Linked DNA regions of Homo sapiens: region 2 is linked to region 1. The links are contacts of gene promoters, found by promoter capture Hi-C in blood cells and fetal thymus (Javierre and others, 2016). All regions are on one chromosome and are shown on one strand. Each heading gives the region's core, a stretch centred on a gene start or on the middle of the fragment in contact. The rest is flanking DNA. Distances are from core to core; before and after follow the strand shown. Region 1 holds the start of NKIRAS1 (NFKB inhibitor interacting Ras like 1). Region 2 holds the start of MRPS22 (mitochondrial ribosomal protein S22).

Region 1 (3,058 bases), core at 482-2,981:
GAAGCAGTCAGGAGCCAAGGAATTCAGGCAGGCTTCATAAGGTGGAAAAGCCAAGGAAATAAATGTACTCTCCCCTAGTACCTCCAGAAGGAACACAGCCCTACTGACTTTGGTTTTAGCTTGGTGATATTTACAGATTTACAGACCTAGTCTGATGTACAAACTAAAAGACGGTAAATTTGTATTATTAACCAACAAAGTTGCTGAAATTTGTTACAGGAGCAATGGAAGACTAACACAATTTCCTAAGCAGTCTCTCTGCTTCCATTTTTTCTCTCCTTTTAGCCTCAAAAGGAGCAATCCGAGTTATCTTTTTAAAATGTACGCCATATGAAGTCATCCTTCTGTTCAAAATCTGCCAATGAAATCCAAAGTCCATGTGAGAACCTTCACCTCTCCGACGTCATTTCCCACTTTCCCCTACTGTGAATTTCAGCCACACTGCTTCCCTGCTGTTCCTCTATTAATCTTGCATGCTCCAGTCATGGCTCTTCTCCCTCTGCCTGAATCAGACCCCTACTCTTACTCCCAGACTCCTATCCTTGAAGTCCTTTCTTAAATGTTACCTTCTCTCAAAGACTTAACCTGGACACTCCATTCCAAATTGCAACCCTCAGCCGCTAACACTCCCTCATCACTTCCCTCCCCTTATCTTTTTTCCTTAGCATTTACCACCAAACCCAAAACACAGCTTACTTCTGCTTACTGCCCATTTCCAAGAAGGCCAAAAATTCTGCGTTGTTTCCTGCTGCATCCCCAGCAACTATGCCTGGCACATATTAGACACTTAATAAATATTTGTTGAATCAATCAATGAACCAGATAGAGACTCTTAAAAACGTAAAGCTGTGATTTAAAAAGAAAGAAAGAAAAATATGATGTGGGAAAAAAGATAATCAAAACCGCTACGATTAAGAGATAATGATTCTCTTAAGCCTTTGCCACATCTGAACGCATAATCTGGAAGGAAATTAAAGCCACATGACTTAAATTAAAGCCAAGTGAAAATATTCTGGAGAAACAAAGTAAGCCAGTAACCTATTTCTCAATTTAAAAAAAAACCCGCAACGCAAAATGCCAGCATTTTCTCGGCATTTCTTCTCTAAAACATTCACACCTGCCAAACAGGTCTTGGCAAATAAACATTCTGCTCTTCTGAAAAACTGTGGTTCTCATGTTAGCAAATTTGGGACGAAATCCGTATGCAGAAAAAGCGCCGGGCCGCCCGCAATCCACCCACTCCATGACCCTTTTTTAGGACAAAATCCCTGGGCGCTGGGGCCTGCTGGAGGAGCTTCACGCAGTCTGGAGCTGAAGGGACACAGCGAGCGCCCCGACCCGCGACGCCCCGACTCCGCGAAGGCCTCCCTGGGAGGCTGGGGAAGCGTCGGGGGATCTCTCAGCGCAGCTCTGGGGCCCAGATTTCTGCGCCCGTCGTGCGGTGGCCAGAGAGGGACAGCGCAGCGCGGAGACGCGGAGACGCAGAGACTCCGCAGGGGGAGAGCCCGCGGTGCGTGAAACAAACCTGTTCTCTCCTCAGACCTCAAAGACAGCGGCTCCACCGCGGTACGCGGCCACCGGCTTTGGAGCCTGGACCCCAACTTGCCTCCTCTCGCGGAGAGACAGTCGCCGACGCTCGCTTAGCCGCCGAGACCTCGCCGCCAACTCTCTCACCTCTCGAGACGCCCAGGCCGCTCAGGCTCGAATCTTGCGGAGCAGGGGGCGGGACAATAGCGGCCGCGGCGCCCCACTCGGCAGAACTCCGCCACCAGGCGCGATGCCGGAACTACATGTCCCATGACGCTCTGGGAGGCCGCAGCTTTCCACCGGAAAGAGGGTGGCTGAGGTGGGGGAGGAGCCCAAAAGGCATTGTGGGAGTACAGCTCTTTCCTTTCCGTCTGGCGGCAGCCATCAGGTAGGCTGCGTTGAGGATCTTTGCTCTTCCATCCGCCTTTGATCGTCTTCCTCTTCAGCCATCCAGGTCCGGGGACCCTGCGTCCTCGGAGATAGGTCTCCCTCCTGTGCGGCCAGAGTTTGGTCAGGATGCGGGACAGCAAAGGGGTGGAGAGGCGGCCCCCGGGGCGGGTTGAGCGAAGATGTGATGGCGGCGCGAATTCGAGCTGGGCCCGGATCCTGGAGGAGGCGTGGGGCTGACGAATGGGGCGCCCGGGACAAGGCAGCCTAAAGTGAGGCTGCTGGTTGGGTGGGGTAGATGCATTTTCCTCGAGAGTTAATCCTCGGTGGCCGCAGCAGTACCTTGTCCTGTGATGTCAGCGGCATCTCCTTTCAGGTCCTCCTTGGGGACGCCGCCTGCCGCAGCCACCCGCCCCCTTGGTGCTCAGTTCTGGTTCTGTTAATTCGCCCCACCAAAACGTGCCGAGCACCGCTCTGTGCTGGGGTTGCGGAAGTGACTGAACGCGGCTCCGTGGGCGCAGTGGTGGGGGTTGGGCTAGCTGTCCCCGGCAGTTGGTGCAGAGCCATTTTCATTCCCGGCGGTTTCCTTGTTTTTGTTGGGGAACTAAGATGGACGGATACAGTCGTCTTATTGTACTTAAAGCGGATGATATTTAATACACAGTTTGATTTCACAGGTAAGCCAAGATGGGTGCATACAAGTACATCCAGGAGCTATGGAGAAAGAAGCAGTCTGATGTCATGCGCTTTCTTCTGAGGGTCCGCTGCTGGCAGTACCGCCAGCTCTCTGCTCTCCACAGGGCTCCCCGCCCCACCCGGCCTGATAAAGCGCGCCGACTGGGCTACAAGGCCAAGCAAGGTACGTGATCGACTGCGTGGATGCTTGGATAAAATTATATTCGAGAAAAGTTGGAAACCAGCTGTTAGGAAGACACTGCTGCCTCAGTGTCTTTCTTCGCATAGGGCTTTGGCAGAAAAAAGCTAGCAACACTGGTCAGTTACTGTATGCACTGTTGTCTAAAGTGGCAAGTGTGTCAAAGGTTACAAATCTGAATGAGTTCAGACTAAAGCAAAATAAACAGTGTGCCTCCCTGTGTGAGTAGCCTAAGGTGCATTGAAAAAGACTGGGATGTGTTTTATTTTT
Region 2 (3,058 bases), core at 199-2,698, about 120 Mb after region 1:
GTTTGTTTATTTGAGATGGAGTCTTGCTTTGTTGCTCAGGCTGGAGTGCAATGGCACGATCTTGGCTCAATGCAACCTTTGCCTCCTCGGTTCAAGCGATTCTCCTGGTACAGGCGCCCGCCACCATGCTTGGCTAATTTTTATATTTTTAGTAGAGACGGGGGTTTCACCATGTTGGCCAGGCTAATCTCGAACTCCTGACCTCAGGTGATCCGCCCGCCTTGGCCTCCCAGACTGCTGGGATTACAGGCGTGAGCCACGGCGCCTGGCCGGAAATTTGTTATTTAGAACGATGGAAACGGGTAGGAAAAAGAGCATATAGGGAAAAAGGTGTAAGTTTTAACTTTATGCATAGGGAAGGACATAAACACCGTCTACTTGTGAATAAGTAGTTTAGAAGAAACAATCTATAAGGGCCCGGAAGACTTCCGGCCCTTTCCGCCTTTAACTAGACTACATTTCCCAGAGTGCTGCAAGAACTGGGTGTGACTCGGAATCCCTCCCAACCACTTCCGGCGCAAGTGGCTTCTGATAATCATGGCGCCCCTCGGAACAACTGTATTGCTGTGGAGCCTCTTGAGGAGTTCTCCGGGCGTGGAACGGGTCTGTTTCCGGGCTCGAATCCAGCCCTGGCACGGTGGCCTGCTCCAACCGCTACCTTGCTCTTTCGAGATGGGGCTGCCACGCCGCCGGTTCAGCTCCGAGGCCGGTAAGTGACCTTCCGGACTTTCGCTGGGGCGTTCTTCTGGGAGACGTAGATCCTGTTTCTGGCAGGCGAAAACCACGCGATAGCCCCCGCGACACGTATCCTAGCGCTTCCTCAGATTCAGCTGTCTTCCTTCTGTACCTGTAGAGTTTGTCATCACCTGCATATCTGTTCATTCGTTCACTCACTCAACTACAGTGCCTGAGTTCCGCTCCGTGCAGAGCACTGTGCTAAGCTCTGTGGGATATGGCAAACTAAGACTGACACAGACATTTCCCTGTGGGAACTCATGTCCATGGGGAATTGGCAGTGCAGTGTGACCCGGGTTGTTATAGGGGACGCACACAGGAGAGGCACTCAAACTAGGTTGGAAGGTCAGGGAAGGGTTCCTGGCAAATATGACCAAAGCTGAGATCTGGTTAGCCATGCTAAGGAGAAAGCAAGAAGCTTCTCAAGCATAGGGGACAGTAGCAGATGTCCAGAAATGAGACTGAGCACAGATATTTGGGAACCCATTTTGGAGGTAGGATTGATAAGGCTTGATTAAGGCTTTGGATATGAGTTTAAAGGGACAAATTAAGATTGTTTCTTAAGTTTTTGATTGGAATAGAGGGTTGTCCCATTTACACCAAGATGAAGAAGATTAATTAATTGTTGGAACCGTTATTTTGGGGGCGGGGGTAGTGCAGGAGTAGATGAGATCAGGAGATGGGAAAGGAGGCGGAATTAAACCTATTTGGGACACATTAAATTTGAGGTGACTTTAAGAGTCAACTGTTTAGTATGGAGTTAAATATAAAGTGAGGAACATCGGAGTAAAAATGGTAACTAAAGGTGAGTGAATGGGTGAGACTGAGGAGAGAGTAGTGCTGAGCACTTGCTGTGTGCTGGATACCCTGAGGAACCCTGGGTGCCAGAGATGAGTATAAGACAAGGTCTGGTCTTCATAGAGCACATCACTTAGTGAGAGACATAGTGTAGGTAAGCAGACCACCTTAACTTTTTTTCTAAATGAGGTTGGAAGCCATTCGTGAATTTTAAGCTTGGGAGTAATCTTGATTACATTTTAAAGAGATTACTCTGGTTGCTCTGTGGAGAATGATCTGTAGTGGGGCCAGAATGGAGAAAGGGAGGCTGATGCAAGAGATGAGGATAGCCTTGACTAGAGTAGTGGCAGTGGGAAATGGAGGATTAAAATGAGATTTATGAAGGCAAACAATCAGTATGTTCTCTGCCAGTGGTGTTTTTTTTTTTGTTTTTTTTTTTTTTTTGTAAAATTGGGATAATCTTCGTGTTTACCTCATGGGTTGTTGTGAGTATTAAATGGGCTGAATGTGTAAAGTACTTAGCTCAGTCAGTATTGGCATGTAGTAAATAGCTAATAAATGGTAGCTCTTATAATTACTGTTATTATTACTACAGCTATTTGATTACTGTTGTTGTTATTACTACTGCTATTGGCTAGATCTGGAGGATCAGGGAGAATTTAGGAATGGCTGTAAGATTTCTGGCCTGTATGGCCTACTGGATGATGCTGAGATAGGGAACAGAAAATGCAGGTTTGAGACAAGGGAAAGTTGATGGGTTCTGACTTGGCAGTATTCAAGTACATGAGAGAGGTTGAGTAATTGGATGGAAGGTGATCTTGGCAGGAGATTCAGATTTTAGAGTTTCTGGCATATAAAGGTAATTGAAGTCGTGGCAGGATAGGAGAAATCATCGAGTAAGAATCTGAGAAGGGAGAAAAGGACATCGTTCAGAATCTGTAGGGATACCAACATTTATAGGAGAAGAAGAGGTGACTAGGAACAAATGGCTTTTTCTTTCTTTTTTGCTAATGGAAATGGAAGTAGAAGTTAGGCAAAGCAATAAGCAAACTGCATGAGGCTGAGCTAAGATTTGATTCTCTGCTTATGTCAAAGGCTCTTCCATGATAACACACGGCCTCTTCAGTATCATGTCCAGTGAACCAAGCCTCTTTCCTAGCTGCAATCTCTTAGCCTAGACTTTCCCTCCCTTTTTTCTCTGCCGTGATGAGGCTCTTGGGACGCTTTCTTTGACCCTGTCATGCCCATCCCTAGTCCAGGCTATGCTTAGTTTCTTCCTCTGCAATCACCCAAGCCCCGTACCTCTCCTGTATACCATACCTCTCACATTATGTCTCCCCACACCTCCCACTTATACCGAGGAGCGCTATGATAAATTGGAAACCATCTAGGATCCAGAACCAGACAAACCTTGGTTTAAATTTTGACTCTATCACTTAATAGCTAGTTGTCTTTGGATAGGCTTCAGCATCCTCATTTATAAAATTGGGTTTATCAGTACCTATTTTGTGAGTGGTTATAAGCA

What was found. Contacts are between HindIII fragments. The CHiCAGO score rates a contact against its expected background, and 5 or more counts as called.
Region 2: a contact is called between a fragment that was not itself captured here and the fragment with the promoter of NKIRAS1 in region 1, in 1 of 17 cell types (non-activated CD4 T cells). The highest score is 5.2, in non-activated CD4 T cells.

Annotation. Positions count from the first base shown.
Region 1 is chr3:23,915,259-23,918,316 of GRCh38, forward strand. NKIRAS1 (NFKB inhibitor interacting Ras like 1) reads right to left here and starts at 1,732. Exons shown (of 5, transcript NM_020345.4): 1 at 1,526-1,732. It overlaps RPL15 (ribosomal protein L15), which reads left to right and starts at 1,874. Exons shown (of 4, transcript NM_002948.5): 1 at 1,874-1,915; 2 at 2,592-2,773. The coding sequence starts at 2,602. RefSeq lists enhancers at 1,336-2,135, 1,387-2,586, 2,516-2,615. The HindIII fragment of the contact is 19,179 bases long and covers 1-3,058 here.
Region 2 is chr3:139,343,490-139,346,547 of GRCh38, forward strand. It overlaps MRPS22 (mitochondrial ribosomal protein S22), which reads left to right and starts at 531. Exons shown (of 8, transcript NM_020191.4): 1 at 531-709. The coding sequence starts at 538. RefSeq lists enhancers at 589-678, 638-932, 909-1,008, 1,019-1,138. The HindIII fragment of the contact is 595 bases long and covers 1,152-1,746 here.